2 separate regions of the Homo sapiens genome follow, and region 2 is linked to region 1. The links are contacts of gene promoters, found by promoter capture Hi-C in blood cells and fetal thymus (Javierre and others, 2016). All regions are on one chromosome and are shown on one strand. The core of a region is centred on a gene start or on the middle of the fragment in contact, and the rest is flanking DNA. Distances in the headings are between cores, read along the strand shown. Region 1 holds the start of DHX15 (DEAH-box helicase 15). Region 2 holds the start of PACRGL (parkin coregulated like).

Region 1 (5,076 bases), core at 1,351-3,850:
ACTTCAAGTGAAATCTGTATTTTATTCTGACTTTGATACCAACTGATTGTGTGAACTTCAATAAGACCTAGGGGTTCAGTTTCCCTCATTTGTAAAATTAAGCAAAAAGAGAAAAATCAGATGGAATCCAGTGATTATACATCATGATCTGAAAAAAGTCAACACAATTGTCCCTCAGTATCCACTAGGGATTGGTTCCAGGAGAAACTGCCGACACTAAAGTCCGTGGAGGTTCAAGTGTCTGATATAAAATAGTACAGTATTTGCATATAACCTATGCACATTCTTCTGTATACTTAATCATCACTAGATCACTTATAATACCTAATACAATGTAATTGCTATGGAAATAGCTGTTATACTGTATTGTTTAAGAAATAAGAGCAAGAAAAAGTCTGTACATGTTCAATACAGATGCAACCATCCATTTTTAAAGAAAAATATATTTTTGATTTGCAGTTGATTGAATCCAGGGATAAGGAACCCACAGATAATAGAAGGCCAACTCATCATTTTAATTTCAGTTTTTTCCTATACATATGTAATTATGATAAAGTGTAACTTATAAATTAGGCACAGTAAGATATTAACAACTAATAATAAAACATTTATAACAACATACAGACAGTCTTGACTTACAATTGTTTGACCAGATTTTTTGACTTCACGATGGGTTTATCGGTATATTAACTGCATGTTCAACTTACAACATTTTCAGTTTACGATGGCTTTGCGATGGCCATCACCCCATCATAAGTCAAGGAGAATCTATACTGTAATAGAAGCTATGTGAATGTGGTCTTTCTCTCAGAATATCTTACTGTACTGTGAAAGCAAAACCAGGGACAAAGTAGGGACTATGGTACATTTAGGATAGAAAGTTGTACTGAATATTTCACAAGTGAAAAATATACTCATTTTTCTTTGTGTTGACTTTCCAATGTGGATTTGGTACAAAAAAATAAAAACCCTCCTTACCAATTGCTGGCTGGGTGCAGTGGCTCACGCCTGTAATCCCAGCACTTTGGGAGGCCGAGGTGGGCAGATCACTTGAGGTCCGGAGTTCAAGACCAGCCTGGCCAGCATGGCGACACCTCGTCTCTACGTCTCTACTAAAAATACCAAAATTAGCCGGGCGCGTAGCCGGGCGTGGTGGCGGGCGCTTATAATCCCAGCTAGGAGGGAGGCTGAGGCAGGAGAATGGCTTAAACCCGGGAGGCGGAGGTTGCAGTGAGCTGAGATTGCACCACTGTCCTCCAGCCTGGGCGACAGAGCAAGACTGTCTCAAAACAAACACACAAACCCCTCATCAGTTGCAATATTTAAGTTGCATTTAATCCTAGCAATTGCAGTCCTGAGATTTGGATAAGAACCAGAGTATGGTCTTCCAGGGCAGCCAAACCAAGCCATTCCATGAACAACAGAGATCACCCTGCTGCAGATGGTCCACAGATCTTTTCTTGTGCATTTCTTCTGGGAACAAATGCAACTGAGGAAGCAGACATATTCTAGGGGGAGAGATCCACAAAAATCCTTAGAGTCATCTTGCCCCACCTCCTTGTTATGGCTTTAGGTACAGCCCTTATGGCTAGGAGATGTAACCTTCCTCAGCCTTTGCGTCTACGTCTACAAAATAACAACTACCTTGCAGGGTGTTATTTAACACTGCGAAAGTGCATTAATAGGCACAGAAAAACAAAAAACAAAAAAGCAAATTGTGCCCTCACTGCGAATTCTCTGTATTCTAGTTAAAAACATCTATAGCTTGGGTGCATGGTGTCCGTGCTGGGCAAGAAAAGGGCAAAATAGATCATGACAAGCCTTAACATTTTCTCACTTCAGTTTCCTCACTGCAATTGATTTTTTTTTTTCTTTCAAGTCGGAGTCTTGTTCTGTCGTCCAGGCTGGAGTGCACTGGTGTGATCTCGTCTCACCGCAACCTCCGCCTCCCAGGTTCAAGCGATTCTCCTGCCTCAGCCTACCGAGTAGCTGGGATTACAGGCGTACGCCACCACGCCCAGCTAATTTTTGTATTTTTAGTAGAGACGGGGTTTCACCGTGTTGGCCAGGCTGGTCTCGAACTCCTGACCTCGTGATCCACCCGCCTCGGTCTCCCAAAGCGTTGGGATTACAGGCGTGAACCATCGCGCGGCCCCTCACTGCAACTGAGGGTAGCGCAGTGGCCGCAAGTTCCAGATCTGGAGTTACTAAATAGCTGGGTTCCAATCCCGGCTCTGCCACTTATTAGCTGTACGATCTTCATTCGTTTCTCAACCTCTCTGGGTCTGAGATTCCCTTAAAGCCGGGGTAATAGAAATGAATAGGATTTCCTAACTAGGACTAGACTTTCTCAATTTCTTGACTCAGAGGGGCAAGGATAGCCTGAAATGGAAAGTGAAGGCCTTCAGGTTCTTCCTAACAGCCGCTCCGAGGAGGGGAAAGCTACAGGAAGAGGGAGGAGACCCAAGAAAGGTCGGACCAATGAGGCAGCGGGCGGGACAGGAGTTCCCGCCTTTGGGCGTCGTGCGCGCGCACCTCGCTCACACGCACACTCGCACGCACGCACGCTGCGGAAGCGCGCGCGCGCGCAGGCCCAGCCCTCGTCGCCGCCGCCATTTTAGCTGTTGGTTCCGGCCGCACCGTGTGGGCTGTAGTAGCGGGAGGGGTGGGGGTCCTCCAGAGTTAAGTGGCTGTCCTCGACTGTGCCCATACAGCAGCCAGCTTTCTTCCTTAATAACTGCCCGTTCGAAGAGTGCGAGGATGTCCAAGCGGCACCGGTTGGACCTAGGGGAGGATTACCCCTCTGGCAAGAAGCGTGCGGGGACCGATGGGTAAGCCAGGCCGGGGGCGCGAGGCGGCAGCTCGGGCTTTGTTGGGGTCCTGGCAGGGAGCGGGCCGGGGCTGGCCTGGCCGAGCGGGTCCTGGAGCCCGAGCCTTTGTTTCTCTCTGGGCTGGGTTCACTAGCGGCGGGTAGGAGAAGCGCGGCGCCCGTTCGGCCCGGCAAGGGCGCGGGGGGTTGCGTGCGACGGGGCCGCTGCCCAGCCCAGTCCGGAGGGTGGAGAGGCCTGCAGTAGCCATGAGGGCGCCTCCTCCCCCAGGCCGAACCGAGCGGGAGTCATTTGCGAGGGCGTCGGGCGGGAGTGAACCGCGGACCTCGTGGCCTCGGTTCCCGAGGAAGGCCTGGAGCCGGAGGAGAGGGTGGGGGAGGGCGCGGTGGGAGTATTCGCTTCCAAGGGCAGCAGGCACTTCCCAGCCAGAGGGGCCGTGGGGAGGGCCTGGGTGGGGGCGCGGCCAGGCACTCCAGACGGGAAAGGCGGAGGGCGGAAAGTGAGAGCAGCGCGTGGATCATAATGTAGGCTGGGATGGGGGTGGCGGGAGTTGAGAGAAGCCAGCAAATAGGGAGTTCTCGGGGGAGGTGGGAGTAGAGGACCTGCCGGGAGAAAGGAAAACGTGGAGTAATATACCTGATGGGCTGGAAGGCTGGTGTTTTGGGGCGACTGAGTTTATAGTTTGGCGGGAGAGAGCGTGCCTTGGTCCATTCAAACACTTCAAAGTAGATACTAGCAAACTTCCGCTCTCTGCCTACGCTCCCGCCATCTCCTGTATTTCCTGCTTTGGTTAAAACTGGTTACTGAACATCGTCCCATGGGGAGGGATTAGAAGGCATTGTTTTTTTTTTTCATCATTTATTTTCTATGCATGTCCCACTTTTCTTCATAAGTAGCTTTTGAAATACAGGGATCATGTTCAAAACGTGTTTTTAGTATTTATGGCGAAACACCGCCCATGTGGAGGTTGAGAGTTGAAATACTTACACAAACTCTTGGTGTTCCAGATTCCTTTCCTTAAAGGTACAGAGGAATTTAGCAGTTAATTTAAGCAATTTCGTGAAAATCATTTCTTGTCCCTTGTGTGTTTTCATTGATGAAGTACAAAGACCTGTTTGGATAATTCAGGCAAAACCCACAAAAGCCCGAGTAGCCAAATACTTTGCATAATTGTATCATTTTATTGTGTACTTGTGATACAGAATCACTGTGTCAAGTCACCTGTATAGCTGTTTTGAATTTTTCAGCTAAAGTTCTTCATTGAAATTGATTTCCAGGGATATGTTTAGTGTCATTGTAGAGTATAAGCCAGGATAGGGTGTACTTTTTGAGGCTTTGCCATATGTTGAATTATTCAATAGAAAGCAAAAGCATGTCACATTTTAATTTTGTGAGTTATTTAGTTTACGATATTAGGCATTGTAAAAAAGACAATGACATTGTAAGACAGACTCTCTTTAGGCTATCACCCTCCCCCACCATTACGCCCCACAAAACGTTAATACCTCTGAGCTGTATGTCACAGACTCAGAGCTGGAAGCAACTTAAAAAAGACTATACGCGGCTCCAATCAAGGAATGAGAAGTGGAGAACAGAGTTAAGGTGGCTTGTGCAAGTTTACAGCAGGATCTGGAACCCTGCCTTTGTCATTTTCACTCAGCAGCACACAGTTCAGTACTGTAGTTAAGAGTCATTACAGCCTATTTTAATGACATTTATAATGCGTTGGTAAAGTAGGGAACACTTAGTTCTTGATTTCTCTAAGGCAAAAATAAATTGCTGTCATCTGGAACTGATGTCTCTCACAGGAGGTCAGATTGGAACAAAATATTCTGGGAGGGAATGAATGAATTCATTTGTATTTGTGCATATGTGCACCATTTAAAATGTTCCCCTTGGGATTAGTGGTCCCACCATATGTATGTGCGATTGTTTACTTTCTCTTGCAAAAACAGATATCCTTAGTAAAAAGGTTGACTTTTGGAGTCTAATGGTAGCTTTATGATTCCCTTGTATATTATTTAGAATTTGCCTATGGATAAAGGAGAGTTCATCTTTGGAATAATGCCCAAGTTATAAGAAATAGTAGAGGGAAGTTTTTATACTCATTTCTATGTCATTTGAGTGCCATTTATCCTTGAACTGGTTTTATTTAACAGTGGACTTAAGGTGTTTATCGGCCTCAGAATTTTTTCATACTCGATAATTTTAAGTCACTTGTTGACTGCCATGCAATCCTGCAGATTTT
Region 2 (5,564 bases), core at 2,458-4,957, 3.9 Mb after region 1:
TGTTTAAAGAGGGAAATAAAAGCCTGTCAAGGTTTTCTGGAGGTGCAAATGAAATTATCTCTCAAGTTACTCACCCAGGGAATACTGGTTCACTTTTCCCTTACACAGTTGCTTTTTTTCTGCTAATGGAGGACTCTAGTTCATACCCCAAGGTTTCCAGCTAATCCAATCAATTTCTACAATTGTATCTCTAGCAAGAAATACACACACACAAACACACACACACACACACACACACACACACACACTCATATACCCAAGTGCCTACTGGTATTTTTAGGCCAAGCTTCATTCCCAACTTCCATGAAGCCTTTCCTCATCTTGGTTTCTCAAATGTGTATTTCTATGGCATTGATTTCTATCCTGTGTCCTTATTTCTACTTGATTACTCTGTTCCCTCACTTCCACGACAATCTAGTTATTCTATTAGCACACGTCTCATTTTAATGCCTTTAATAATGACTGCCTCTCAAGTATAGTGTAAGATCTTCCCTTAGGACAACACAGGTAAAGTCCTCTTCCACCTCCAAATGACACTTTTTCAAATATTTGATGGCATTAACTCTTAACTCCTTCATTTTTTCTTCTTCAGGATAAACACTGATACTTTTTAAAATGATTCCTCACATGAAATGCTTTTAATCCACTTAACAAGTTAGAAATCCTCAAAAGGAGGACAAAGCTCCATGTTATAAAATTTAGCCAGATATCTCAAACATGATGTACCAGCTTAAAGTCTGATACCATGTAAAGATAACCTAAATGTAAGCTTGCTTCTGCACACTGAATAATTTCAATTTCCTTGATTTAGTACATTGATCTCATTTATCTCATCCCACTACCAGCAGATGACTTACTTCCCAGTATCACACTTCACCTCCATTCCCAGGGCCATTTTCTAATACTACGGTAATTAAAATCTCATTAAAGTTGTCAGATAATAGTCTAAAATAAGCTGAGAGAAGCTTTAAATATGTTAACCTACTATTGTACTTCTGTGATCATTCAACAAGTATTTAATATTGTGCCTGACTTCTGTTTTGAGAAGCTCCTGGAGGGGGAACAACACAAGTTTCTATTGAAAAAAAAAATGCATCAGTTTCCTCAACTCTATAATTGGGCATAATTACAGGAACTACTTTAAGTGTTGATGAAGACTAGTAAGAATATATGTAAAACAACATTTCCATAATGGGAGGCATGCAGTAAGGGCCACATGAGTCTTAGCTATTATTATAATTTTCTTTACAATGGTACAAAGTGTTCTTCAGTATTACTATTACTAATAGTGAAACCACATGTTTTGTCATTTTTAAAAAATCTGGCTTAACATCTTGGGCTACATCAATTTGAAGACCAGCTGAGGTCCAATTTCTCTTGATCATCAATTGTTAACAGCTGCAACAGATAAAAGCGATGCACAGCAAAGACGCGTACCCACAAACATAACAAGGGCACAGGCAGCCATATCAAATTATGATGCACATTTTTCAATACTACCTACCAATTCAGTGGAAGTTTTGGATGGAATTTTATGGCTAAATTTCTATCTTCCTTCACGTCAAAAAGTTGTTCCTGTAACAAACTAATGGGGAGGTGTTGCATTATATTTTGAATGAGTTCAAAAAGTCACCAAAACTCATTTGAAAAAGTTTTAAACATGGTAGAAAATCGAGCTTCTACAGTTTATGAGTATACAGGACAACTTTTATGTACAATATATAATTTTCAGCATTAAACATACAGTAATGCAAACACGTCTACATCCCCTTTCAAAATCCTGTATTAGAGAATTTCCTTCCAAAACAATTGCTTTTTCACTTAAAATTTTTATCCTTTACCTTAACGACAAATTACAGTTGGCTCTCCGTATATGCGGGTTCCACATCTATAGATTTGACCCAACCACGGATACGGAGAGCAGACTGGAGGACTTTGGCATGGGTGGATTTGGGTATCTGAAAGAGACTGGGGGGAGGGAGGGAGTCCTGGAGCCAATTCTCCACGGACACCAAGGGACGACGGGAAATGTAGTCAATTTTTTAAAATAATATCCACCTGGAAGCATGCCACTGACAAGCCTGGAGCATGAGTTGTTTGTGAAAGCAAGCTTTAAAAATCTTATCCTTGGTAACCCTTTCAAGTGGTTTTTCATTAAATAACATGTAGAGGATGGTGTAAAGGGGCAGTGATGGGGAGAAGCGAACCTGTAAGAACTATTTTGTGTTACAAATATTATCAAGGTCACCGCTCATTCTTTTACAAAACAAGATAAACATTCTAATTATAGATATTAGAATCCATAAATCCACTTAACTTCGAACACCTAAACTATGTCACAATATCAGAAAGCAAACAAACCACCCTATGAAGCCCACACATTCCCCTTAAAGCTTCCTTGGTTGCTACAGGTCATCTATCTACAAGGGACTGCCGGTATCTGTGTCAATGGTAGGAAAGTGTACTTTCTATCATTGTTTGGGCAGCTGATATAGCCTATTTCTTTCCCTGTATGTACTTTCTCCCGTACTCAGCTTTAAGACCACTGAACTAAAACAATTCTCAGTCAGCAGAGCCCTGCTTTCTAATCCAGGTCTAGAAAGTTCCAAACGTGTAAGTAAGAGCCCCACTAAAGAAACCATGTTCCATTTGTAAAGCTCTGTCAAATTCTAAAAGACCCAGAGCCCAATAGTCACTTATCCCAGTCCCTTTTTTACCAGAAAGTAAATTCAAAGGGCCAGTATTAGGGTCGCACAATCTGCTTAGGGGTCTTAGAATCTATTTTCCACCTTCCCAGCCACCCCTCCTACACTCACTTCTAGATACTTAAAGACCAGTCCAGAGCCAGGATGCTATCAAAGTCAGCAAAAGAGGAAGACACAGAAAAAAAATAAAGAAAAAACAGAGATTTTTTAAAGGGGCCGAGGGAGGAGTTTACCAGTTTCAATTAAGGTTAACGAAGGCTACTCTCGACTGACCCTCTACCCCAGGAAAGGAGGGGTACACTCCAAGCGCTCACGATCTCAAGGGTCCTTAGCAACGGGGTCCAGCGGCCCTAGCAACAGATCAGGAAGCAAGCCGGCTTGGCAGAGAGCGCAGACAGGACACCTGTACCCGCGGTTCACGGCTCCGGGGACCCGTTCCTACCGCGCCTCTCTCCCGCCGCGATCCGCACACCAGCTGCCCCCCACCGGGGGGGGCTTATGACCGGCACTCGGTCGGCCAACAACCGCGGCTACCGCCACCGAGCGCCTGCGTTTGGGGAAATGAGGCTCCGCGCGGCCCGCCCCTGAACCTGGTCGCGCCGCGCAATGACGTCAGACGCACGCTGCGTCGTCTAAACCAATGGTAAGAGGTCGCGGAGGCGCCCCAGAAGAGGGTTGCCCAGGCAACCAGGCGCCAGGAGTTCAGGGGGCAGCTCACGCACTGCAGGCGCTGTCTCTGGCGACAAAGGGGCACGTGGTGGAGGATGTTTTTCGAATAAGAGGTCCGGAGAGCAGAGGGACGATGACGGGTTCCCAGTCGCCTGCGCCCTAGCCTCTCTTCAGTCCATGTGCTTAACTCCTAAACGCTTTTCTCGCACACTTAATACTCATTGTTCCTCAGCTATCTTACCCTCAATACTCGGAGAACTGAAGACTGTGAACTCCTCCCCCCGAGTCTTCAGGGGTGAGAGCCGAAGCCATCTGCATGCCCAGCTGTGGGATTTTCTTGTAGTTTCCTGTTCTATCTGGCTAAATCATAAGCCTAGCTGTGGAAATTCGTTTCCTGTCGTATTTTATGAATCTCATATGCTATTGCATTCTTCACAGTATATCCGCATTTAAATAGTAAAAAGCACGATTTTGTGCTCTACATTATTTTTAATAGTAAAAATATTTAATAGTGAAAAGCACGATTTTATGCTCCACATCATAACAAAACTGATGCTGCAGGAAAATGCATATTCCCTTGTATTGCATTCCACCAGCAACAATTTGGGTTGTCATAGTTAAGTCCAAGCCCTTTGGACCTGTCCACTGCACTCCTCTTTAGCATCCTCTACTGTTGCCAACCCAAAGCCCTAACTTTTTGCTTAGGTAACACTAAATTGGCATTGTCTGAGCACTCGAGGCTGTGTAATCCTTCTGTGCTCCTGTAGCTCCATCCTTGCTACTTGACCAGCACCCCAGAAGCATCTTCATTAGATTGTGAGTTTCCTCAGGATAAGGATTTTAACTTTGCCCTTTTTATTTCTCCAGCTTCAAGCATAATGCAGTGGGTATTCAACTAATGTCTTCTGAATGAATAAAATGAATTAATAAATTCTGTCTATGTCTAATTTCTCTAATGTTCTGTGAACCTTGCATACAAATCTAAGTTTTAAAATTTATTATAATGTATTTACCTATCTTTCTCACTAGACTGAAATTGTCTTTATTGCTTTTCTATCCCCAATGCCTAGCGCAATGCATGCTTAACTAACGTTTTTAAAAGGAAAAAGAAATTTTTAAAAAAAAAAATCTTATATCCTGTATCTTCAGCTACTTTTACTTTATAATCTCTCATCTCCAGCTTCCTCAAGACTTATTATATTTTCCTTACTCCTAGCATCTCCAGTGTCAGACTCAGTAGAGCTCCTAGTTCGTGACCTTTTAACCCCTCCTCCCTGGACTATAAGAATGATTTGTATTCAGTATCGCAGAGGAATGACAAGCATATGTGTTCTGGAGTTAAGCTATCTAAAACTCACCACCCCTTATCAGCTATGAGTCCTTGTGGATGACGACTCCTACAAGCCTCAATTTCCTCTTCATTATTGGGTTATTGCGAGACTTAAATTTAAGAGGACAATTGAATACCTGACACATAGGAAGTACTCAATAAGTATTAGCTAGTGCAATTATTCAGGTGAAAGCAAATTAAGACTAACGTGGAGGACATCGTAAGTGGCAAAAGTCTCATGCTATGTGTTGGTGTATGAACCATGGACGATGACACGGATTTTTCAGATCTTTATAATAACAATTAGTATAAGCTTCTCCTAATCACAGTTAAAACAGCCTCTTCTAAACTTTCTGTCATCATTTTAGAAAATGAACAGAAAACATGCTCCTTGGCATTGCAACTCTATCAGGATATTATGCAATAAGTGGTGGGTGCTTTCTTGAATACACTGGTTTGACAAGCCTGTGAGGCATCCAGGGGGAGCTAACTAGCATGCTGTTGGATCTGCTCATCTAGAGGGCAGGAAAGAGAACTGGGCATAGCTATGGATTTTTGAGCCATCAGCATATGTAGACGCTGAGTTGGGCGATAGGAGTAATACCTTCTAGGAAAGCTCACAATATGTGAGAAACAGAGCACTGATTGTGGACTTTTGTCTTCTATTCAGGTTTTAAGGTTTAATTTTCTATTTAAGAGAGAATGGGATGAGGGAAAAAAGGTGACCTATTTGCCTAGCAATATAGTAAATGATTCTGAAAAGACAGAATATGCCATATATTTTCTGTTTGCTCTCATATAGGTACACTCTTCCCTTTGTCCTGTTATTTGCTCTGGGATGCTGATCAGCATAAACTATA

What was found. The method cuts DNA at HindIII sites, captures the fragments that hold promoters and counts their contacts. A CHiCAGO score of 5 or more calls a contact.
Region 2: a fragment that was not itself captured here is called in contact with the fragment with the promoter of DHX15 in region 1 in 1 of 17 cell types (total B cells); the score reaches 5.7 in total B cells.

Annotation. Positions count from the first base shown.
Region 1 is chr4:24,582,078-24,587,153 of GRCh38, reverse strand. DHX15 (DEAH-box helicase 15) reads left to right here and starts at 2,600. Exons shown (of 14, transcript NM_001358.3): 1 at 2,600-2,831. The coding sequence starts at 2,761. RefSeq lists an enhancer at 2,162-2,701 and silencers at 2,882-3,001, 3,012-3,091, 3,292-3,341. The HindIII fragment of the contact is 7,218 bases long and covers 1-5,076 here.
Region 2 is chr4:20,698,162-20,703,725 of GRCh38, reverse strand. It overlaps PACRGL (parkin coregulated like), which reads right to left and starts at 3,268. Exons shown (of 9, transcript NM_001258345.3): 1 at 2,939-3,268. RefSeq lists an enhancer at 3,036-3,155. The HindIII fragment of the contact is 2,624 bases long and covers 2,396-5,019 here.